5 separate regions of the Homo sapiens genome follow, and all the other regions are linked to region 1. Evidence: promoter capture Hi-C in 16 types of primary human blood cells and fetal thymus (Javierre and others, 2016). All regions are on one chromosome and are shown on one strand. The core of a region is centred on a gene start or on the middle of the fragment in contact, and the rest is flanking DNA. Distances in the headings are between cores, read along the strand shown. Region 1 holds the start of RWDD4 (RWD domain containing 4). Region 2 holds the start of CCDC110 (coiled-coil domain containing 110). Region 3 holds the start of CFAP97 (cilia and flagella associated protein 97). Region 4 overlaps CFAP97 (cilia and flagella associated protein 97). Region 5 overlaps SLC25A4 (solute carrier family 25 member 4).

Region 1 (4,666 bases), core at 1,568-4,067:
ACTTTCCCATTATTTACATACATTTCTTTTATATGTAATCCTTCCCACAGTGATACAAAGCTCTAAAAAACACCTAAGGGCAAGAAAAAGAACTTAAGAAAAAGGCTGACAAGTATCTACCCAAGATGAGACAGGACTGTCAGAGAAAATGTAACTAGTAATCCTTGCTTGGACATAGTTCTTAGAACATTTTGGTATTACAACTGAGAAGTTCATCACTGTGATCACCGATGAATACCTGAGAAAAGAAGTAAAGCAAGACTGCACTTGGGTACACGTTTAAGTTTTTCAAAAAGATGCATGTCATGAATTCTACAAACTAAAGATGGTGAAAGTGGGCTTGATCTACAGTCAAAATTTTAGAATAGAAATTATTGGCTGGGCGCGGTGGCTCACATCTGTAATCCCAGCACTTTGGGAGGCCGAGGCGGGCGGATCACCTGAGGTCAGGAGTTCGAGGTCAGCCTGGCCAACACGGTGAAACCCCATCTCTACTAAAGACACAAAAATTAGCCAGGTGTGGTGATGGGCGCCTGTAGTCCCAGCTACTCAGGAGGCTGAGGCAAGAGAATCGCTTGAACCCAGGAGGCGGAGGTTGCAGTGAGCCGAGATCGGGCCACTGCAATCCAGCCTGGGCTACAGAGCGAGGCTCCGTCTCAAAAATAGCAACAACAACAGCAAAAAGACATTGTTGAAGAAACAGTGTGTGAGGAACTGGGACATTAAGGAGTAGACCCTAAGACCTAGTAAGTATATGAAAAACAAGATATACCCTTCTTAGATAGGGAAACTTGATTGGCACAATGAAGAAAGGCATAAAACACCGACTATATAGATTTCAGCCAGGCTCCACAGGTTTCTCTTGCTACCTTTACAGAAAAAACAAAAAAAAACAAAATACAGAAATTCAAGCCGGATTCAAGAATAACTAAGATTAGATTGGAACAAAAACCTTACTCAAGATATAGTACTACTCCTTCTGTCCCTAATCCTTTCCCATATTTTAATTTATGACTTGGACAGGTACAAAAATAGGAGGCAAGTTTATTAAATTTGTGGATGACAATTTGTTGGGACAGTGAATAATGCTGATGGCTGAATAAGAATCCAAAAAGTCTTTGAAAAGCAAGCTAATGATGAAATTTAGCAGGGTAAGTAGAACTTGTATCAATACTCAGATACCTAAATGTAGAAGTTGAAGATGAAAGACAAATTGCTTTGTATAAAGCACTTAAAAGATTTCAGTTGACAGTAAATTTAACTAGACAAAACAGCAAGATGCCACAATTTTGAAACAGGACATTTAAAAAATTAAAATCTGTCCACAAACACGTGATTCCAGGATAGTGAAGAGATTAACAAAGAATGGATATATGAAGACAAGCTAAAAGGAACCACTTCCTCAGAGAAGGTCTGAGAAACTGGGCAGGAAACTATCTTCAAAGATCAGAACATCGGTCATCTGAAAGAAGAATGAAATTTTCTTGTTAAACTGGAGATTCCTGGGCCCACCACAGAAATTCTGATTCAGTAGGTCTGGGGTGGAGTGCACGCATCTGTTTTCTAGCAACCATCTAAATGGTTCTAAGGTAGGGGACTATGGTCCAACTCTGAGAAACATTACACTGTATGTTCTTTGCTTTGCAGGGAGAAGAAGCTATTAACGCATTCACTTAGAAATTCACCCGGCAAGAATATTTTAGAAGAGATTCAGATATCAACTAGCTAGCTTGTTGGACTTTGGGTCCTTTAAAGGTTAACTTCCAATCCAGAGATTCTATTACATTTATCATGTAAAAGTAGTAAGTTTCAAGCATTATACTTTAAATTAACAGTGAACTTATCTACCACCCAATAAGACCTGGTTTCTAGTCCCGATTCTACCACGTACTTACTGTGCAGCCCTGCGGCTATCATCGACCCACCTATCAAAGTTAGAAGGTTCCCCTACAGATGGCCCGTAGCACCCACCCCCCAACTCTAATATTATATGATTCAATGTCAAAATGGCATCTCACAAGGAAATATTTGAGCATAAACCATAAATTCAGGTGGTACATGAATGCTCAAAACAGACAGATGGGTAAAAGATTTCCCCAAACAATATGGACAGAAACTCAGATGCACCACCAGTGTCATTTTCTTCCATGAGAAATGTAACTAACTCAATTAGCCCTCTACTAGCCAAGAGATTTAAAGATGACCAGACTAAAATTTAAAGGTGATCAGCCTAACTCAGTAAACAGGCACTGAACACATGGGATTCAAGGAGAGCCAAGAGCACTGGATCGTGCACCAAGGACGCTCATCCCTGTTATTAAGTAACCAGGGGAGACTCCCGGATTTGCAAAAATGAAAAATGAGGGGGGAAGAGTGGCAGAGGCGGACTCCTGGCCATTCACGCGCGCTTGGGTGGGACGCCGGTGAACTCGGGGCACCCCGGCCGGCTCCGAGGGCACAGGGCACGTGCCGGGCAGGCTGTCCGGGCACCAGGTCTCACGGGGGCCCGGGGCTGCGCGCCGCGCCCGCGCTGGGAGAGGGCCCTGAGCCGGGGGGCTCACCTCCTGGTCCTCGTTGGCACTCATCGCGCCGGTCGCGGGGCGCCTCCTGAGCGGACGGCGTTCGCAACAACGAAGAGAAAGCGAAGGCAGCGGCCCAGAGGCCGGGCGTCCCCCTTTCGCGCCTCGGCTGTGGGGGCGGCACAGTCTTGGCACTGGCAGACGCCAACTGCGCGCGCCCCGAGCCTCGGCAGCGCCCAGCCGCCGGCAGTGGGCTGTGGGCTACGAGCCGGAGCCGCGGCTGGTGGGGCCTGGGAAGTGCAGCGTCTCCCTGACGCTTGGAGGAGCGGCGTAAAGTTCCGGGACAGCGATTGGTGTAGAGCGCGGTCACTCAGGCCCAGAAAGTGCTTCCTGTGCCGGGGGAGGTGGGTACAGGGAAGTCTCGCCTGTTGGAACTGGCTGTGGGGCTGCGGCGGTGGGGACGGGCCACGGCGTTCTGTGACATCCCCCCGCCTCCCCTCGTCTTCTCCCGGCTGGCGGCGACCGGCCTCAGCTGCAGCGGGCCCGGGGCGTGGGGCCTGGGTGAGTCCGGGCCCGGAGACCCGCGGGGCCAGGCGGGACCGCCGAGGAAGAGAGCTAGCTCTTAACAATGCTGGTTTGGGGGCCTGCGTTTTGCAATCCCATCGACGGGTGCAATCCTGGCACTTCTCTTTTAGACCCGAGGAAAGACGCACCCGTTTCTAGGGCCTCCCAGGTTTAAGACGGGGGAATAAGAGGAGGAAGATATCTGCCTTTAGGGACTGCAAGGTTATTTCTCTACCTTTCCTCACTGGAGCTACCAGAACAGATACTGGGACCATGGGGACGGTGTTTCTCCTACGTTGGATTGTTGCTTCTCATCTTTAACATCGAAACATCATTTCGTCCCCACACTGTCGTTCCTCTTTTGTTCGTTTTGTAGTTGAACATCTCTGAATCCCATTCTTAGCAGCCTTGTGTCCTAACACCCTGAACTTCCAGTTAGTTAAAAGAAAAAAAAAGTAACCACATTAGGTTTTGGGGTTTTTTTAGTTGCCAATTTGATTGGGTCACCTTTCTTATCTTTCACGCTAGTTTCCAGTTTACTTCCCTTGCATTACTTGATCTCCCATCCATTATTCACCTTCTATAGCTGCGCCTCCTTTCGTGTATAGTTTCGTTGGTTGCTCCATTGGATATCTGAAAATTTCTCCTTCCAGCCTGTCATTGAAATCCATTCGATCTGCGCCTGTGCGTTATCGGGGTTCTCATTCAAATTCCTTTGCTGCAGAATAAGCACGACCATTTCAGGTGACATAGGAGAATGTGGCAAGACTTTCTGATACAATTTTCGTGCAGCAATTTTGGGACACATTTCCCATAATTTAGATCTCTGCTGTCCAGTTCTGTAGCCAGTAGCTACATCAGGCATTTGAAATAGGCTAGTCTGAATTGAGATGTGCTGTGAGTGTGAAATACACACCAGATTTTGAAGACTCAGTACAAAAAAAGGTAAAATATGTCATTAATAACTTTTATATTATTGTCAGTATGATAATATTTTGGACATACTGTACTGCGTTAAATTGAATATTAAAATGAATTCCATCCACGTTTTACTTTTTAATATGACTGCTAGAAATTTTTAATTTATTTATGTGACTTGTATTTCTATTGGATGACAGTCATTTTTAGTTCCTCTTATTTCAACTCCATATTTAAAGACCACAGCTATGTCTTTTGGGCCTCTGGAGTTATTACAGGAAATGGCCTCTAGTCTAGACTCGTTCATATTAAGCAAAGGGGCCCGTATTGTATTTTGGTCACTTGTTTTTTGTTGTTGTTGTTGAGACGGAGTCTTGCTCTGTTGCCCAGGCTGGAGTGCAGTGGTGCGATCTCGGCTCACTGAAATCTCCGCCTCCCGGGTTCAAGCCATTCTCCTGCCTCAGCCTCCCGAGTAGCTGGGACTATAGGCACGCATCACCATGCCCGGCTAATTTTTGTATTTTTAGTAGAGACGGGGTTTCACCCTATTGGCCAGGCTGGTTTTGAACCGTTGACCTCGTGAATCGCCCGCCTTGGCCTCCCAAAGTGCTGGGATTACAGGCGTGAGCCGCTGTACCCAGCCTGGTCACCCCTTTTTAATTTTC
Region 2 (4,666 bases), core at 1,222-3,721, 1.8 Mb after region 1:
GCCTATAGTTGCAGGCAGGAAATTCCTGGGTGGCCCCTGACTCAAGATAACTGGTGTTTATTAAGAACCTGTCCTGTGTCAACCCCAGACCTGTAAACACTGTGTTCTGGCAAGAAAGACTGTAACTCTTAAACATGTACATGTGCTATTTTGCATGTAACTATTTTCTATAAATGTTGGCATCTTTCTCCAGAACCCTAAGCCTCATTCATGTCAAAAAACATGTGATCTTGCCAAATTAAGGTACTTCTATTTCTTCTGACCTTACATGCTCTCTTTGAGGTAAATACGGAGCTACCTCAATGTCTCAACTCTCTGTGAGGACTCTTTCTCCTTCGTTCAGGGGGCCCCTTTGCCCCTCCTGGTTGCCCAGGGAAACCTGCATATCTCAAGGGTGGAGGCAGGAGGGCGGAGAGGGGACTGGCCAGTGCCTGTCCTGCTGGCCTCCACTGGGGTGTTGCTCATCCTGGTAGTGCCTGGGCACCCGGGTGTCTTCTGTCTACTGAGGTGTGGCTGCTCTAGTCTCTTCTTTCCGGGCCCTGACAAGGCTTTTTGTGAAGATCTTGCATGGTGGAGGTGCAGAAATCCTGTCCCAACCTCAGTCCTCTTGTGGTTCAGCACTTTGGCATCAGGATTGCCCATATCCTACAGAGGGGCAACTGGGGGTCCGGGCATGGCACATCAGTCTAGACCCTTCTCCTGCCCCGTGCTCTGCTCCTTCCCCGGCATGTCCCCTCACAGCAGGCTCCTCTGAGAGGCGTGTAGTCAGTCGCCTGGGACTCCACCTTCAATGTCCTCAGATTCCCCTAGCTGGGTACCCCCATCTTATTCATAATTTATGTGGTGCTTGAAAGCTTTAGCTATGTGGCTATTTCAAACATCCTCCCCATATAATATCCTGTAGTCCGTAAATATTTACTATAAAAAGTAGTTTTCTTTAGAAAAGGTATACACCCCTCCCTGGATATCCACAGGGGATTGGTTCCAGAGCCTCTGCGGATAGCAAAATCTGCAGATGCCCAAGTCCCTAATACAAAATGGGGTAGTATTTGCATAGCTTCTATGTGTATCCTGCTGTATACTTTAAATCATCTCTCGATTACTTGTAATACCTTATACAATGTAAATGCTATGTAAATGGCTGTTATACTGTTCAAAATTTGCATTTAAAAATTGTGGTACTGTTATTTTTAAAAATTTTCCCCCCTGAATATTTTCCATCTGTGGTTGGTTGAATCCAAGGATGCGGAACTCCCAGATACCGAGGGCTGACTGCATATCGTTTTAGTGTGTGTCCAAAAAACTCAACAATTCTTACTTAGCATTCAGAGAAGCAACGGAGCGTAGCGTGGTGGTGAAGACAGGCAGTCCGGAGCCGCCCTGCTGAATGCCCGCTCCATTCCTCGCTGCCTGTGTGACCTTAGGGAGTTAACCTCTCTGTGCCCGTTTCCTTATCTGCAAAATGGGGATCGTGGTAGCACCCACCTCGTAAAAGTGTTGTGAGAATTAAACAGTTGATCCATTACGTGCTTAGAACAGCACTGGCACAAAGCGCGAGTGCCGTGGTGGCTGCTGTCCGTGTCATCACGGCCGTGGGAAGCACGCCAGGTGAGCAGGTGGCACAGGCCAGATGCTGCCGCCTGTGTATAGTTAAAGGAGCCTTTTACGGTCTGGCGATTTTACCTGTGTCACTGCAGCCACTTTCCTTCACCCCCTCCGAAGAATTTAGGATCTTGGACGCTGAAAGGAGAACGGAGTCAACTTCATCCTCTTCCCGGTGCTGCTTTTCTGTAACAGAACCGTCCGGGGCTGTTCTGTCGCGGGTCGTGGCGTGGCGGGGCTGAAGGTGGGGGCGGGGCAGAGGGATGGGGCGGGGCAGGGCTAACGGCTGGGGCGGGGCGGAGGGAATTAGGAGGGGGCGGGGCTGAAGGCTGGGGCGGGGGGGCGGGGAGGGCGGGGAGGGCGGGGCGGAGGGAATTAGGAGGGGGCGGGTTTGAAGGCTGGGGCGGGGCGCAGGGATGGGATGGGGCGGAGAGACTGGGCGGGACCTGTGGGGGCAGAGGAATGGGGCGGGGTCAAGGCTGAAGGCTGGGGCGGGGCGGAGGGATGGGGCGGAGGGACGGCATCAGGCCGGGCCTGGGGCGGGGCGCGGCGCTTTCCGCAAGCGGCCACCCGAGGGCGCGCTGGGCGGGCGGCGGCGGCAGACCACGTAGCCAGCCTGTAAGCCACAGCGGACGCAGGGGGCCGCAGCGGGTGCTCAGCCCTAGGGCCGAGCGGGAGATGTGCGGCGAGTGCAGAAGGGCGGACCCGGGATGTCCCGGGTTTTCGAGCGGGGAGCCGCCTGCTGAATGCCCTTCTGCTGCCCTCCGTTCCCGCGGCTCCCCTAGGAGCCCCGCCCCGTCCAACTCTTACCCGGGCTCATCGCCGCGGCTCATCTCTCTCGCAACCGCCGCCGCACGCACCCGCTCCGCCGCCCCGCGCAGGGCATCCTGTCGCCAGGTAACCGGGTGGCCGGGGCGCCGGCCCCACCCCCACCCTCGGCGGCGCGCGCTCGGCTGGGGTCCCTGGTGGGGTCCCGGTGGGTCCCTCCTCACTCCGGACGCTTCCCCGAGAGCTTCCCTGGGAACCTGGCCTGGGACAGCCCACCTGGGCGCCTCCCCGCACACGCGCGCGGCTGTCCGGGACGGGCTTGCTCACACTCGGACTCGCTGCGGTACCCGCCGGACCAAAGCGGTGCGGAGAAAGGGACCGCCCGGGGACGGACACACGCCTGAGAGCTTTCCCTTTGCCTTTCCACATCTCCACTTCATCGCTGTTGTTTTTTTTTTTTAATTCTTAGTCCTCTCATTTCAGCGCATCCCTCAGAGGAGTTTCAGCATTTGGGGATTTGAACGGCCCATGACCAATATTGTGAAAGGACTTTTGTTTGCTGCAATGAAAAGAAGACTCCTATTTTTCAATAATGAATTAACCTAAACATGTATTAAAATATGCTCATGAAAGCTGTGGGAAGCGACGGTGGGCTTCCTTTGTCTAAGCATGTTAATTTTTACGCACCTGGTGTATCACGTGCAGGATTGATGTTGCGTTCACGGGAAACCTGACCTCCTTTAACCAAGGACTGGGTGCGTGCCCCCAGCTAATCCTCCTGCCCATCAGAAAATGGTGCTCTTTAAAGTTTTAAACGAGTATATATTATTTATTTTGTAGTAAACCATCACACATAGAAAATTAAAATTCAAAATCACAATCACCAGGATATCATAATTTGCTATATAATAACATATAATATATAATAAGTAATACATGATGGCTTGCTTTCATTGAAATGAAACTTCTTATGATAGTTTCAGTGCTTACTTCCTCTAATTTGTTTCTTATAGAAATGGGCTCTAGTGCACGCGCCTGTAATCTCAGCTACTCAGGAGGCTGAGGCAGGAGAATCGCTTGAACCCAGGAGGCGGAGGTTGCAGTGAGCCGAGATGGCGCCACTGTGCTCCAGCCTGGGCAACAGAGCCAGACTCCGTCTCAAAAAAACAAAAAAAAACAAACAAAAAAAAAAAAAAGAAAAGAAATGGGCTCTAGGTCCGGCATGATGGCTCACACCTGTAATCCCAGCACTTTGGGAGGCCGAGGCGGGTGGATCACCTGAGGTCAGGAGTCCGAGACCAGCCTGACCAACATGGTGAAACCTTGTCTCTACTAAAAATACCAAAATTAGCCAGGTATGGTGGAGTACATTCGTAATCCCAGCTACTCGGGAGGCTGAGGCAGGAGAATCACTTGAACCCAGGAGGCAGAGGCTGCAGTGAGTCGACATAGTGCAACTGCACTCCAGCCTGGGCCACAGAGCGACACTCTGTCTCAAAAAAAAAAAAAAAAAAAAGAAAGAAAGAAAGAAAAAAATGGGCTCTAGAAGATTTGACTTTCTTGTGGCATTGTAGACAATTTTAATAAATTATAATTTTGAGAATTTATGGTCTGCATTGCTGATTGATATTGATGATTCAGGAGATAGAAATTATTTAGGCAGATAGGGCAAAAGAGTCTTCAGCAGAACTTCTAACAAAAAACAGCTCAAGAAATCATTTTTTTTTCTAACAAAGAGCAGCCTGAAAGCCTGCAAACCTTGCAAAGATAGATCAGGAAGCTGGAAGCGTGCACACCAGGGCGCAGGGGGTTGGGGGGCAGCGTGCGGGTGGATGCCAGCAGCTGCGCTGATAGAAAAGGGCTACCTGGGGGCCAGGCATGTCCACCATGGAATCTCCATCTCCCCTTTTTTGTTAGCACGTGTACAGTAAGAAAGAGATGGGCGATATGGAAAAGCTCAGTCAGAGAACCCACCTGCGTAGTAAAAGATTGGGGTGGGGGCTGCCAGAGATTCATGCCCTATGCAGATGGCACACCTGGTCCTAACTGGTTTTTCACGCCCTATGTAGATCAGACTGCCTCCCCATTAGCTCATCTATAAAATTCTATAAAAAATATTTCACAGCGAATTGGCAACCCGGGGACCCCTTTCTGTAGCGGAGAGCTTATTCCCTTTCTTGTCGCCTATTACATTTCGGCTCTTAACCTCACTCTTTGTGTGTCTGCATCCTTGATCTCCCTGTGAGACAGCAAACCTTGGTGTCAGCCCACACAATGAGGCTGCTTCATTGATAAA
Region 3 (4,666 bases), core at 1,596-4,095, 1.5 Mb after region 1:
CTCTACTACAAATAAAAAAAAATTAGCTGGGCGTGGTGGCCCATGTCTGTAATCCCAGCTACTTGGGAGGCTGAGGCAGGAGAATCTCTTGAACCCAGGAAGCGGAGGTTGCAGTGAGCCCAGATCACACCACTGCACTCCAGCCCAGGCGACAGAGCAAGACTCCGCCTCAAAAAAAAAAAAAAAAAAGTTCTACTCTGGATAAAATGCTGTCAAGCAGCATCACAAGCTACAGAAATCTTTTGTGAAAAGAAGTCAATCAATAAAGCAAAGTTAATCATTGTCTTATTTTAAGAAATTGCCACAGCCATCCCAACCTTCAGCACTCAGCACCCTGATCAGTCAGCCGCCATCAACAGTGAGGCAAGACCCTCCACCAGCAAAAAAAAATTACAACTCCCTGAAGGCTCAGATGATTGACAGCATTTTTTAGCCATAAATTATTTTTTAGATAACGTATGTACATTTCTTAAGCATAATACCATTGTACCCTTAACAGACCACGGTATAGTGTAAACATAACTTTTATATGCACTGGGAAACCAAAAAATTCATGTGACTCGCTTTATTCCAAGATTTAATTTATTGTGGTGGTCTGCAAGCAACCAAAATATCTCCAAGGTATGCCTGTATTTACCGTCCCATAGTTTCAATCCCTAGAGGTCTAACCCTCCACCTGGTTTTATGATCTCTTCATGTCGTATCTCCACAGTTTATCATCTTTTAAACACCGTATAGAAACTTTCTGGCCTATCCACTTCTTTTCTAGGAAAGCCCTGTGTCATTGTAAAAATTAACATAAAATACGTATGCCTTTTCTCCTGTTAATCTGCCTTACAGCCCCAGCTGCAGACCCAGCTAAAGGAAAAAGGATTTTTGTTTTTCCCCCCATCCCCTACACTTGTCTCCTTGCCAGACTGGGAGCTCCTCGTCACTTCCTCATCTTTATAACCCCAGTACCCAAAGGAGAACCTGATGAATTTAGTCATTCAAAGAATGTTTATCCCACAAAGGAGTTTGGAGTTAGGAGATTTAAGATTGAGCCATGCTCTTTGCTACCCACGAGGGTAGAAAAATCGCCTTGTATGTGTGTGGCTGGGCATGGAGGCTCATGTGCGGTGGCTCATGTTACAGTCTCATGCCTGTAACTTTGGGAGGCCCAGGCAGGCAGACCACTTGAGCCCAGGAGCTTGAGACCAGCCTGGCCAACATGGCCAAACCCCACCTCTACAAAAAATACAAAAATTAGCCGGGCGTTGTAGCTCTCGCCTGTAGTCCCAGCTACTCCGGAGGCTGAGGTGGGAGAATCGCTGGAACCTGGGAGCTGAGGCTGCAGTGAGCCGAGATCAGGCCACTGCACTCCAGCCTAGGCAACAGAGTGAGATCCTATCTCAAAAAACAAACAAACAAAAAAAATCACCGGGTTTCAACCCAGTTTCCTTGATAGTTTCCTGCCATCTTCCCCCACCCCTCCGGAAGCACAAACCACAACTATGCCTTTATCTGCATTTCCATGATAAGGTCATGCAGTCCCCAAGAGCTGGAAGCCAGCTGCCTCCCTAAGTGGTCACAGTTCATGCGCCCTGGTGCATAGTCCGGTGCCTGTGAGACTTTTCAGGTTTAAATTTTAGTTAATAATATCCAACAGAGTTACTGTAAAGATTTCGACACTCATGTGACTTAATTTACAGGAAAATTTACCCAACAATCCCATCCACTGAGCAATTCTTTTGATAACATTTACTACGAGGTAAGTGATTCAATTTACCAGAGAATAAGAAAAATGACTTAATAAAGTAGTTAAGATTCTCTTTACAACAGACTAGGAAAGGATAAAATTAAAGGATAGTTCATCAGACCATAACAACCCTTTGGTGCTCAATCAAGACAGAGTTTTGCCAGGAGGGGCATGGCTCACGCCTGTAATCCCCGGACTTTGGGAGGCCAAGACAGGAGGATCGCTTGAGCCCAGGAGTTGGGAGGCTGCAGTGAGACATGATCGTGCCACTGCACTCCACCCTGGGCCACAGAGCGAGACCCTGTCTCAAAAAATAAAAATAAAAAAAAGAGACAGGTAAGTTTTTATCAAAGCTGCCTGAGAGTCACTGGGCACGCCCCACTTGCCAGGTCCTACAGACCAGCAATAACAAGACTAATGCTTTCACCAAACATCAGGAAAATACACAGAAAAGCACCGGGCACTTTTTAAACTGTCATCTTGTTACTGTGACAATACATTTCTGTAGTTAAACAGCACAGTAGGCCTCCAACAAGATGCCCAATTGGGTACATGAAAATCCCGGCCCAAATTAAACACCTGTTTCCAGGAACGCTAGGCTCTTGTCTACATCCCCTACCGTCCCCGGAAGGCAGATAACCCCTCGGGCCTCGTGGGTTAGGTTCGAGTCCCTACAAGTAGGAAGAAGTCGTCAGGGCCCGGCATGTGGTCGCGGCCCAATCTCAATTTAGGGCTGATCCTGACCCTCAAAGCCACCCGGAACGCGCGAGAGGGCGGGACCCGCCATTCTCACAGGGGACCGGGGTGGAACGGCGCCGCGACCCGCCGCCGCGGGCGCCCCTGTCGTGGGGGCGCGGTCTCCCACCGTCCGCGCAGGCTTCGTTAAACCCACCCCGAGTACTCGCCGCCGCCTGGGCTCCGGAGCGGGGAGACGGATGCGAACGGAAAGGAGCGTGGCGGGCGCCCCGCGAGCAGGGAGCCAGGAGCCGCTCGCGCGCCCCTCACCTGAGAGCCGCGGCCACCACAGCCCCACGCGCGGCGCTGGCGCACTCCCGCGGCCCTGAACGGGCTCCCGGCGCCGCGCGCCCGCGCTTCCGGAGGCGGAGAGAGCGGAAAGGGAAAGGAGGGGCGGCGTGGGGCCCGGCGCTTCGGGAGAGGCGGGGGCGCACGCCGGGCCTCGTGCGGCCCTCGCGGCGGGCGTCACAGAGCGCGGCGGGCAGGCGGCCAGGCCGGGGCTCCACGCGGGCGGAGTGGAGGCCGGGCCAGGGACGCGCACACTAGAAGAGCCGCGGAAGAAGGCGGTCCAGCCCGCGTGGTTGCCATGGCGCCCTAGAGGCGTTACTGCTGCTCCCGGCTGCCTAGGGCGGCGCGGGTAGGCCCCGTTGTTCTCGTGCGTTAATAGGGAAAGCTGCCTTGATTATCTTGTAATTCTCTACCAAACCAAGAATAAAAAAGAACGGCGGCTGTGTGTTTGTGATATTTTCTATCAGCAAATTTCAGTTCATACCACTAGTTAGTTCTGTGGACCAGAGGCTGGTTTCAGAATGGAAAGACCTTTGCCGAGTGGTAAACGAGGTGGGTAGTTAAAACAATCTAAGGTAAAAATGATCTCTGCAGAATATATTGAATACAATAACTTCTCGTTGAACTCTCAGGTATGGTAGGATGATGGCACCCCAAAAATGTGCACCTCCTAGTCCCCACAACACGTGAATATGTCACCTTATGTGGCAGACAGGATTTAGCTGATGTGATTAAGGATCAAAATGGGAAGATTAACCAGGATTATCCAGTGAACCCCATGGAATCACAAAGGTCCTTATAAGATGGAGACAAGAAGTTCAAAGTCAGTAGTGGGAGCTGTGAGCACAGAAGCTAGAGGTTGGAGTGATGTCAGAGGCAATGAGCCAAGGAGTGCAGGTAGAAGCTGCAAAAGGAGGAAACGGATTCTCTCCTGAAACCTCAGGAAGGAACTAGAGCCTGCAAATTTTGATTTTAGACTTAATACCTTAAGCACTGTAAGACAATACACCTGTGTTGTTTTAACTACTGAATTTGTAGTAATTTGTTATAGCAGCAATGGTATACAATCCAGTAGTTAATAAATATTGTTCACATCTAAGTGCAAAGAAGGGTAGGAAATATGGGTCTTACCCTGCCTGTCCCGGGGAGTTCCAGTAAGGATTGTCTATTTTCGTCCTTCACAATGCATTTTGTACTTGTTGGTCTTAATTACCAAAAGTATAATCAATTCTCTTTTTGTTGCCTAAAAGACAGCATTGGCTGGGCGCAGTGGCTCACCCCTGTAATCCCAGCACTTCGGGAGGCCGAGGCGGGTGGGGCCCCCTGAGAGGAGTTCAAGACCAGCCTGACTAATATGGTGAAACACTGTCTCTACTAAAAATACAAAAATTAGCTGGGCGTGGTGACGTGAGCCTGTAGTCCCAGCTACTCGGAAGGCTGAGACAGGAGAATCGCTTGAACTCCGGAGGTGGAGGTTGCAGCGAGCCGAGATCGTGCCACTGCACTCCAACCTAGGCAACAGAGTAAGACTGTGTCTCAAAAAAAAAAAAAGCAAGAATTTCACTTTCTTTTAAAGTGCTTAATAAAACTGTGTTGGCACCACTTTCCAGGGATAGTTGTTAAACTGTGGTTGGCCCGGCGCGGTGGCTCACGTTTGTAATTCCGCACTTTGAGAGGCTGAGGTGGGCGGATCACCTGAGGTCAGGAGTTCCAGACCAGCCTGGCCAACATGGTGAAACTCCGTCTCTACTAAAAATACAAAAATTAGCCAGGTGTGGTGGTGCACATCTGTAATCCCAGCTACTCAGGAGGCTGACGCAGAAGAATCGCTTGAACCCAGGAGGGAAATGTTGCAGTAAGCTGAGATCACGCCATTGTACTCCAGCCTGGGCGACAGAGCAAGCC
Region 4 (4,666 bases), core at 1,222-3,721, 1.5 Mb after region 1:
TGGAGCATAACAGGGTCTGTATCTTCCCTTGAACAAGGCACTTCACTTCAATCCCTCACACGTTGGTATCACTTTAGCAAAAAATTTAACCAGTTTCTTTGCTCATCAATGCTTCTTCAATCCCATTTCTTGTATTTATTTTTCTTCTCAAAATACATCCTGTAGTGATTATTTCATAGTTTATATAGTAGATTTTGAGGCCATGTATTTCTAAAATATTTTAAATTTTTGCTGTTTCAGATTCTTTTTAAAGTGACCTAATTTTACCTATACAAAATATGAAACATACCTTTAAATCTAGTGTGGTCAACGTCTTCAATGCTCTCCAAATCGGTGAGATTCATACCATAACTTGATGTCTAAACTTCTGTTTACTACTCCATTTTTTTAATGCCCTCTCTGCCTATTCAGGGATTTACAGGTCAAGATGAAGGATCTAATTCCAACCATTTTTTGACATTTACATAGCAAAGGCAGCTTTGCATGGAGGTGGAAAATTCCCCAAGTCAGCCACCCTTGAGCTAAAAGAGGTTGAATATTCAGAAATTCGACTAATCTTTCAAGATCCACTTCAAAGTCCTGTATCTAATACTGCCACTATGCAATGGTCTTCCCTTCTTCCACTATTTCTCACAGAACCCGAAGAACTCTGAAGTTAGAATGGACCCTAGCAACCTATATCAACAATCTCCTCCTACAAATAGAGTGCCTGAAGCTCAGAACAGTTGCTGTCTTGTTTGTGATCATGTCGGTAACACCCAGAAGCCTAAGTTTTATTCCACTTTCAAAACTGTCTTTACCTTGGTTCAACACTGTCTCGTCATTCCATGCCCTATACTGGTAGATTCAATTTTACATTCTTTTATCAATCTTTGTTTCATAGGCTTAATATTTTATAGTTCAAATTTCTATTTCATAAACAACAAACGGGCTGGGCGTGGTGGCTCATGCCTGTAATCCCAGCACTTTGGGAGGCTGACACGGGCGGATCATCTGAGGTCAGGAGTTCACGACCAGCCTGGCCAACATGGTGAAACCCCGTCTCTACTAAAAATACAAAAATTAGCTGGGCGTGGTGGTGCCCGCCTGTAATCCCAGCTACTCGGGAGGCTGAGGCAGGAGAGTCACTTGAACCCGGGAGGTGGAGGCTGCAGTAAGCTGAGATTGCGCCACTGCATTCTAGCCTGGGTGACAGAGCAAGACTCCGTCTCAAAAAAAAAAAAAGGTTCTTTTAAACCAATAAAATGTTGATGTGGTTGGCTATACAGGTATCCCTCATTATCTGAACTCTCACCTAATATGGCTGTTAACTTGCAAAATTTTTTACTTAGTATTCACTACCTTAAGCAGTAAACTGGTTTACCGAACCTCTGTACTGAAGTCCGTGAAAATGTTTAAACTGAAAGGATGCAGAGAGTATGCTGCATTCCTGCCTCAGCTGTGCTCTGATGGGCTCACATGTTGTCTTCACCATCATCCTCCCCATACTAAGTGGATTTATGTTCCAGGAAGTAGAAAAGGCAGTGAAGAAATTAGGTAAGCCAAAGCAGCCTAGAAAAGCTTATTTAGTGTAAGTTAGAAGTGATAAAGTGTATTGAGAGATGAATGCAGAAAAGGCACAAGCCTGGCTCTGCATTCATATCCACCTACCATGACCACAGTTGCAGTTATATGGTGGAAAATAAAGAAAACATAGGAAAATAATTTTGGATCTGAAATGCTTCACTGTGTAAATCGAGCATGAATGATAATTTTGAAAAATGATTGCAATACCTTATATAATAGACTGACAGTCCTAATTAGTGTTTAAAATGCTTTATTATTATGAAGAATCCTTGGTGGATTGTTATATTATGGACTCCAATAACAGATGTACCAACTGGCAAAATGCCATGTTTGTTCCTGCGCCTTAAAAAGCCCTGAGCGCCACCTACTGGCAAATCTCTTCTATCAGGGGTTCTTTACTATGCAGTACTATGAATAAAGCTTCCCTTCTACATTTTAGCTCAGCATCTGTGTTAAATGCTTTTTAACAGTATTTCAATTTAATTATAATTGGGGAACTGTTCAGGAGTTTGGGGTAGGATTATTTTTCTTATTTAAAAGTTAAAAATATTTAGGTTCTCTATATCTAATTAAGTTTCAGAAATGGGTTAGACAGGAAGAGTGAAGAATGCTTTATTTTCAATGGAACCAAATAGTTTACTCAGTGTCTTGATATTCAGACCATGGTCCCTAGATCTGCAGCACGGGTATCACCAGTAGGGGCTGATTAGAAATGCCGATTTAGCTCTTACCTTAGTTTTACTGAACCCAAATCTGCATTTTAACAGTATCCCTGGGTTAACCGTATGCATACTGAAGTTTGAGAAGCTCTCTTGGACAAAGTTGGCTGCCCAATTACTGTATATCTATTTTCCTCCTACTTCACAGATCCCTGACTTCCAGGGTGAGCCTGCTTGGCCCAGGATAATCCCATTTCCCCTACCAACGACTGGTTCGGGAATGGGAGCGTAACCAGTTCTGGGCAAGGAGACCTATGTGGATGTTGACTGGGCCAAATTTCTTTAAGAAGTTTCCTCCATTCCAAGAGTCAGAGAAGAGACACTGTCTCTTCCTCTGGACACTGTTGTGTCTGAAGGTGAACACTGAAAACGGCTGCAGACATCTCCTAGCAGCCTAAGAACGAAGCCAACACCAGGGCTGGAGGAACACAGTGCTAGAAAGTAGGTCCCTGATGAAGTTTTGAGCCACTCAATCAACCCTGAAGTCTAGCGTGTCTTTGGGTGACCTGTTATATGAGAAATATTGTTTCATTCGGAATTCCCTTCTTGTATTCAAAATCCTGGATAATCACTGATGACTCTGAACAAAAAGCCCAGAAATCAGACTATTTTCTATTAGATGGTTTTTAAAAACTTGACAATTCTAAGAGTTGAGTGTTTTCTTCCTGTAAGAAGCTTTTTATTGGCTGAAACAATACCTTCCTTTTGTATGCTCGTTTTTTAATCCTCTTTCCTAGGATACAGTGGGGTTTATAATTTGTGGGAACAAATAGTACTTACAAGATTTTAAAAAACGGAAGTGTCCCCTTAAAAATAAAAATTATGATTTAGTCAAACAAGCCCATATTTAAAAAATAAAGCCCACTAGACATATTGAACATTTTAATTTATCTTCTAGAACATTTCTCTTTTCAACCCATTTTTAACCTAATTTTATAAGAACAATACTTTTTAATGCCAAACAATAGGCTGCAACTTTTTAACACGTTTCCCATTTGCCCCAAGAAATGAGTGCTGGCAGTGAGCTGTACTTTTTTTTTTCTGAACAGGAAATGGGTTCAACACATACAAATCACAGTAAGAATTATGAACGAAGAGCAATGCAGCAATAGAAATTTGATGCACAAGAAAAAAGGCAAATATATCAAGATATATGTTATTACACAATATTAGTGAGCAATCTGCATTATCTCATGATATTTTATGATTTAATTTCAACCACCATCCAATTTTTGCATTACAAATATAATTTTAAAGAACAATTCTGTCACTTCAAGGAAAACAGTTGACAGTATTTATTACCAATAATAAAATTTGAGCTTTTTAGCAAAAAATAGTATTTTAGGTAAACTTGTATCTGCCACCATGAGTTTGACAGCTTCTCAAGAGCTTTCTGATGAGGCTGGTAGTGATATTAACAACTATGATTTCTATATAATGTATTCTGAAATTTGCCAACCTTTTTTTTTTTTTTTTTTTTTGAGACAGGGTCTTACTCTGTCTCCTAGGTTGGAATGGAGTGGCGTGATCTCAGTTCACTGCAACCTCCAACTCCCTGGCTCAAGAGATCCTCCTATCTCAACCTCCCCCCGCAGCTGGGACTACAGTAGCACACACCACCATGCCTAGCTAATTTTTGTATTTTTTGTAGAGACAGGGTTTCACCATGTTGCCCAGGCTGGTCTCAAACTCCTGGGCTCAAGTGATCTGCCTACGTCTGCCTCCCAAAGTGCTGGGATGACAGGCGTAGCCACTGTACCTGGCCTGCCAACATTTGTAAGCTCAGTGAAACAATATTTTCCAAATACCCAATATGTCACATTCCAAAACCAGGCATAGGTAAAATATACATTAAAAATCAATCAAGAAAGATCAATATGTTTTAACATAACAGACTTGAAATTCACGATTAAAAGTTAACTGAGATTAATTTCAGATTTCACATTGCAACTAACATCTAAGAAACTATTACTTGTGGGCCAGGCGAGGTGGTACACACCTGTAATCCCAGCACTTTGAGAGGCCGAAGCAGGTGGATCACCTGAGGTCAGGAGTTCCAGACCAGCCTGACCAACATGGTGAAACCCCGTCTCTACTAAAAATACAAAAATTAGCCAGGCGTGGTGGAGGGCGCCTGTAATCCCAGCTACTCAGGAGGCTGAGGTGGGAGAATTGCTTGAACCCGGGAGGCAGAGGTTGCAGTGAGCCAAGCTCGCGCCACTGCACTGCAGCCTGGGCAACAGAGTGAGACTCTGTCTCAAAAAACAACAACAACAGAAAAGAAAATACGACTTGTGGTATAAAAAAATCCACAAGTAACTGAAAAGGTTATTAAAATACTCCTTCATTTTTGAACATTTTGCATATGGCATATTTTCTAT
Region 5 (4,666 bases), core at 752-3,251, 1.5 Mb after region 1:
ATTTGATTTCCTCATCCTTTTTTTCTTCAAAAAAAAAATCTAGGAAGTGCAAACCTTTTTTTTTCTCCTGTCCTCTTCCCTTCTCTCTACCCTGCCTGTCCTCTGTCACCCACCCTCCCCTCCACCAGGTCCAGCATGCCAGCAAACAGATCAGTGCTGAGAAGCAGTACAAAGGGATCATTGATTGTGTGGTGAGAATCCCTAAGGAGCAGGGCTTCCTCTCCTTCTGGAGGGGTAACCTGGCCAACGTGATCCGTTACTTCCCCACCCAAGCTCTCAACTTCGCCTTCAAGGACAAGTACAAGCAGCTCTTCTTAGGGGGTGTGGATCGGCATAAGCAGTTCTGGCGCTACTTTGCTGGTAACCTGGCGTCCGGTGGGGCCGCTGGGGCCACCTCCCTTTGCTTTGTCTACCCGCTGGACTTTGCTAGGACCAGGTTGGCTGCTGATGTGGGCAAGGGCGCCGCCCAGCGTGAGTTCCATGGTCTGGGCGACTGTATCATCAAGATCTTCAAGTCTGATGGCCTGAGGGGGCTCTACCAGGGTTTCAACGTCTCTGTCCAAGGCATCATTATCTATAGAGCTGCCTACTTCGGAGTCTATGATACTGCCAAGGGTGAGAGAGGGGCATCGGGGAGAAGGAGGGTGGTGTGGAAAGAGGATCCTATGGGATCTATAACTCACAAAGGACCTGATATATATTGATCTTGTTTTTTCTAGTCTCTGGGATAATTGAGGCTTCTGAATGAGGAGGTGATGTGCATAAGTTAATAGCTGAAGCGTTCCTTGTGTCCTCTACTGAAATAAACTCTGGCCTTTAGTTATTCAGAGAGGAGGAGGGGGGAGCCTGTCTCCCTCTAGACACAGCCATAGCAGTTACTGAGTTTAACTTGAAGCCACTTCCAATGCCCTGTATACAAGCTGAGCACTGCCCCTCCGGGGTCCGGAGAGGGCAGCAGCCACCTTTGCTGTCTGCCTGGTCATATGTGAAGCACCTGCACAGGGGCAGGTTCCCCGCAAGGTCAGAGCATGGAGCTGGAGGTGCAGTGGCCTCTCTCCCTCCACCTGCTTTCTGCTGAGAACAGGCACTTCATAGCCGTTCGGCTTCTGGGCTCTGTCCACAGGGATGCTGCCTGACCCCAAGAACGTGCACATTTTTGTGAGCTGGATGATTGCCCAGAGTGTGACGGCAGTCGCAGGGCTGGTGTCCTACCCCTTTGACACTGTTCGTCGTAGAATGATGATGCAGTCCGGCCGGAAAGGGGGTAAGCTTGTGCTCTACTCATCTAAACTTGTTTGGTTTTGCCCGAGGAGAACATTTTACAGGGCTCCTTTCAGTCTTCCTTACTGGAAATTAATTTTCAAAATTATTTGATAAGGACTTAGGGAAGAAAGATGGTATTAATTCCCCCTAACGTTCTCAACTATCCTATTAGGGAAAAGTATTTTCCATTTTATTAGAGATGATAAGAACATGAATAGTAAGACATTTAGATGTGAATTTAACTAGGTATCCAGCATTATAGAGACCCTAGGCCCTCTTCCCTTAGAGCCTGGGTGCAAAAGCTAGGGAAAAGAAGTAGTTAGCTACTTCTTACAAAGAACTCTTGCTTCCCTCCTAGTTACAGGTGTTAGTGGGATGGGGTGTTTAGCTGGGTAGAGATGGCCTGAAGCAATCTGTTGTGCCAGAGAAAGTTTTGGCTTCTATAGGTTGAACCATACGAAATTGCCACTTTAAAAGTCAAAAACAGTCCAATGTTAGCAGTTTCGTATGTTTCAACGAATAGTTACAGCCTTTTATTTAGACTGCATAACCTCGTGCAGGATCATCTGAGGCTCGGCCTCAGTTCGGTCCTCCATAAAAAAAGGTAACCGCGTAGCATAATACTCCTGCTCCACTGCGCCCTTCTTGTTTCGCAGTTGGGCAGTCCATGAATTACTTGGTTAATTGCCCCAGTTCTTCACTGACCTTGAACTAATGGAGTAGGAATGACAGGAGACCCAGCCTGCCAGTGAAGCAAGGAAGGAGATGTCCAGTGGGATGTTGCATGGAGCTGGGACTCCATGCCCAGATGACCCTGATTTTATAAAACTGGTAACAGTGTGTACAGATATGTTTCAGGGGAAAAGTCTCTTTCCTCCAGCGTTACGGAGCCCTCACCAGCATTTGTTTCCACAGCCGATATTATGTACACGGGGACAGTTGACTGCTGGAGGAAGATTGCAAAAGACGAAGGAGCCAAGGCCTTCTTCAAAGGTGCCTGGTCCAATGTGCTGAGAGGCATGGGCGGTGCTTTTGTATTGGTGTTGTATGATGAGATCAAAAAATATGTCTAATGTAATTAAAACACAAGTTCACAGATTTACAGTGAACTTGATCTACAAGTTCACAGATCCATTGTGTGGTTTAATAGACTATTCCTAGGGGAAGTAAAAAGATCTGGGATAAAACCAGACTGAAAGGAATACCTCAGAAGAGATGCTTCATTGAGTGTTCATTAAACCACACATGTATTTTGTATTTATTTTACATTTAAATTCCCACAGCAAATAGAAAATAATTTATCATACTTGTACAATTAACTGAAGAATTGATAATAACTGAATGTGAAACATCAATAAAGACCACTTAATGCACGCTTTCTATTTTATTGAACTCTTATTAACTGTAAAATGCATTTTTAAAAGATCAAAAATGCATATTTTCTAGCATGATTCATGTATCAGTCAGCAGCCAAGCTTCTAAATGCCAGATATTATATTGAGAATGTATTATATGAGAACGTACAATGCTTAAAGTTCCGGTTTTCAAACTTAGGCAGGTCATATTCTATCTATCTTATCCAGCATTACTGTAGGCTAGAAAGTGATAATGGCTTTCATAATCCTGCCTTGTCTTAGGCACTTTCCTGCAGTCTTTAGAAATTCTAAGATTCTGCTAAAAGTTTTAAATCACAATCTGGAGAATTTTCTATGATTAGGAAGTGCTCTGTTTTCATCCCTTTAGATAACTGTGACACCTAGAATTTTATGTTAAGTAGAGAGTATTCATTGAAAATCAAGGCCAGGTGCAGTGGCTCACACCTGTCACCCCAGCACTTTGGGAGGCAGAGGTGGGCGTATCACTTCAGGCCAGGAGTTTGAGACCAGCCTGGCCAACCGAGCGAAACCCCATCTCTAATAAAAATACAAAAAATTAGCTGGGTGTGGTGGCGCACACCTGTAATCCCAACTACTCAGGAGGCTGAGGCATCAGAATCACTTGAACCCGAGAGGCAGAGGTTGCAGTGAGCTGAGATGGCATGCCACCACATCCATCCTAAGCGACAGGGCAAGACTCTGTCTCAAAAAAAAAAAAAAGAAAGAAAATCAGTTGTCTTAGTTTAAGCTACTATAACAAGGTACTGTAGACTGATGGCTTATAAGCAACAGAAACTTATTTCTCAGTTCTGTAGTCTGGAGGTCCAAGATCAAGGTGACACTGTGGTCAGGTTCTGATGAGGGCCCTCTTCTGGGTTATAAACTACGGACTTCTTGTATCCTTACATGGCAGAAAGAGCGACAGAGCTCTCTGTAGTCCCTTTTATAAGCTCACTAATCCCATTCATGAGGGCCCTACCCTCATGACCCAATTACCTCCCAAATGCCCCTCCTCCAAACACCACCACTTTGGGGGTTAAGATTTCAACAGATGAATTTTGAAGGGACACAAACATTCAGTCCATAGCATCACTTATCAAGCTAGTATTTAATACCTCTTAGGCCCCGTGGAAGGGAAAATAGATAGGAACCTGCCCTGAAAGATGCTTCAGTTGGGGAGAAAAGGTGAAATTCCATTGTTAGACAATTTGTTTAAGACAATACATCTTGCTTGAGAAGGAATAGAAGGGAAATGAAATGGGGGGAGGGAGTGGTAGGAGATGGAGGCTTTGAAAGAAAATAACCAGATTTAGAAACATGGGTATAGAAAGCATCCTCCAGTACTTCTGTAACAATTTATCAAGACCTACAGGAAGTCAGTTTTGGATTTGCTCCTCCGAGATTTGCGAGCCAGAGGAAAATACTTAGACTATCAGGTTGGAAAGTTCACACTTGGACCAGGAAAAGACCAAGCAGTTGCTATAGTCTCCTGGATTGTGACTAATCTGGAGGAAGCAAGTCCCTGTATCCTTGGCAAAGCTTGAAAGGCAGGCAAATGTCTTCTCTGTGTTTTCTGACAGGTGGTTGGGTGGTGGGGGTTGGTCTCTGTACCTCCTGTTCTTTACCTTGCTTACCAAGCCCTTCCACCGACTCACTCCTGCCTCCCCAGCTAAAAATTGGCTGTGTTGCTTTTACCACAGTTACCAAGGTCTGAGTTTTATAAAATCCAGGATCACATCTGACCTCACCTGGTAGATATCTAGGCCAATAAAGTCTAAAGGGCTAAAAAGAAGGTACCTCTCCATCCTGTCTCCTCGAGGCCAGGCAGCACATGTGCAGTTAAGAGGCCTCCTGGATCCATTGTCCTCCTGTTGCTTTTCGTTCTAAGTGATCCAAACTCTATTGCTGATAGGGAATAAAAGCAGGGCAGGCTAGTAGTGGGCAAGTGCTTTGATGGAGCGTATCTCCAAGCAGGGCCCAAGTTTAGGAGGAGGAAGACCTGATACAATGAATGAACAGTGCGTCCT

Evidence for each region. The method cuts DNA at HindIII sites, captures the fragments that hold promoters and counts their contacts. A CHiCAGO score of 5 or more calls a contact.
Region 2: a contact is called between the fragment with the promoter of CCDC110 here and the fragment with the promoter of RWDD4 in region 1, in 6 of 17 cell types (total CD4 T cells, naive B cells, activated CD4 T cells and 3 more). The highest score is 10.7, in total CD4 T cells.
Region 3: a contact is called between the fragment with the promoter of CFAP97 here and the fragment with the promoter of RWDD4 in region 1, in 7 of 17 cell types (naive CD8 T cells, total CD4 T cells, naive B cells and 4 more). The highest score is 10.6, in naive CD8 T cells.
Region 4: a contact is called between a fragment that was not itself captured here and the fragment with the promoter of RWDD4 in region 1, in 1 of 17 cell types (non-activated CD4 T cells). The highest score is 5.2, in non-activated CD4 T cells.
Region 5: a contact is called between a fragment that was not itself captured here and the fragment with the promoter of RWDD4 in region 1, in 1 of 17 cell types (total CD8 T cells). The highest score is 5.4, in total CD8 T cells.

Annotation. Positions count from the first base shown.
Region 1 is chr4:183,656,368-183,661,033 of GRCh38, forward strand. It overlaps RWDD4 (RWD domain containing 4), which reads right to left and starts at 2,818. Exons shown (of 8, transcript NM_152682.4): 1 at 2,562-2,818. The coding sequence starts at 2,585. TRAPPC11 (trafficking protein particle complex subunit 11) reads left to right here and starts at 2,926. Exons shown (of 30, transcript NM_021942.6): 1 at 2,926-3,080. RefSeq lists enhancers at 2,025-2,813, 2,728-2,857, 2,814-3,601 and silencers at 2,333-2,553, 2,368-2,577, 2,948-3,237. The HindIII fragment of the contact is 5,102 bases long and covers 1-4,666 here.
Region 2 is chr4:185,469,262-185,473,927 of GRCh38, forward strand. It overlaps CCDC110 (coiled-coil domain containing 110), which reads right to left and starts at 2,472. Exons shown (of 7, transcript NM_152775.4): 1 at 2,413-2,472; 2 at 1,684-1,788. The coding sequence starts at 2,422. LOC105377590 (a long non-coding RNA gene) reads left to right here and starts at 2,170. Exons shown (of 2, transcript NR_133944.1): 1 at 2,170-2,499; 2 at 2,854-3,002. RefSeq lists a silencer at 2,057-2,686. The HindIII fragment of the contact is 5,122 bases long and covers 853-4,666 here.
Region 3 is chr4:185,201,155-185,205,820 of GRCh38, forward strand. CFAP97 (cilia and flagella associated protein 97) reads right to left here and starts at 2,846. Exons shown (of 5, transcript NM_020827.3): 1 at 2,744-2,846. It also overlaps a transcript of SNX25 not described here. RefSeq lists silencers at 2,379-3,148, 2,758-2,929 and enhancers at 3,689-3,798, 3,909-3,998. The HindIII fragment of the contact is 9,685 bases long and covers 1-4,666 here.
Region 4 is chr4:185,181,889-185,186,554 of GRCh38, forward strand. All of the region lies in intron 2 of CFAP97 (cilia and flagella associated protein 97), which reads right to left. Among named protein-coding and RNA genes, the nearest start is that of CFAP97, 20 kb to the right of the region's middle. The HindIII fragment of the contact is 974 bases long and covers 1,985-2,958 here.
Region 5 is chr4:185,144,636-185,149,301 of GRCh38, forward strand. SLC25A4 (solute carrier family 25 member 4) reads left to right here. Exons shown (of 4, transcript NM_001151.4): 2 at 129-615; 3 at 1,124-1,264; 4 at 2,179-4,666. The coding sequence ends at 2,336. Among named protein-coding and RNA genes, the nearest start is that of SLC25A4, 3.7 kb to the left of the region's middle. The HindIII fragment of the contact is 1,469 bases long and covers 1,268-2,736 here.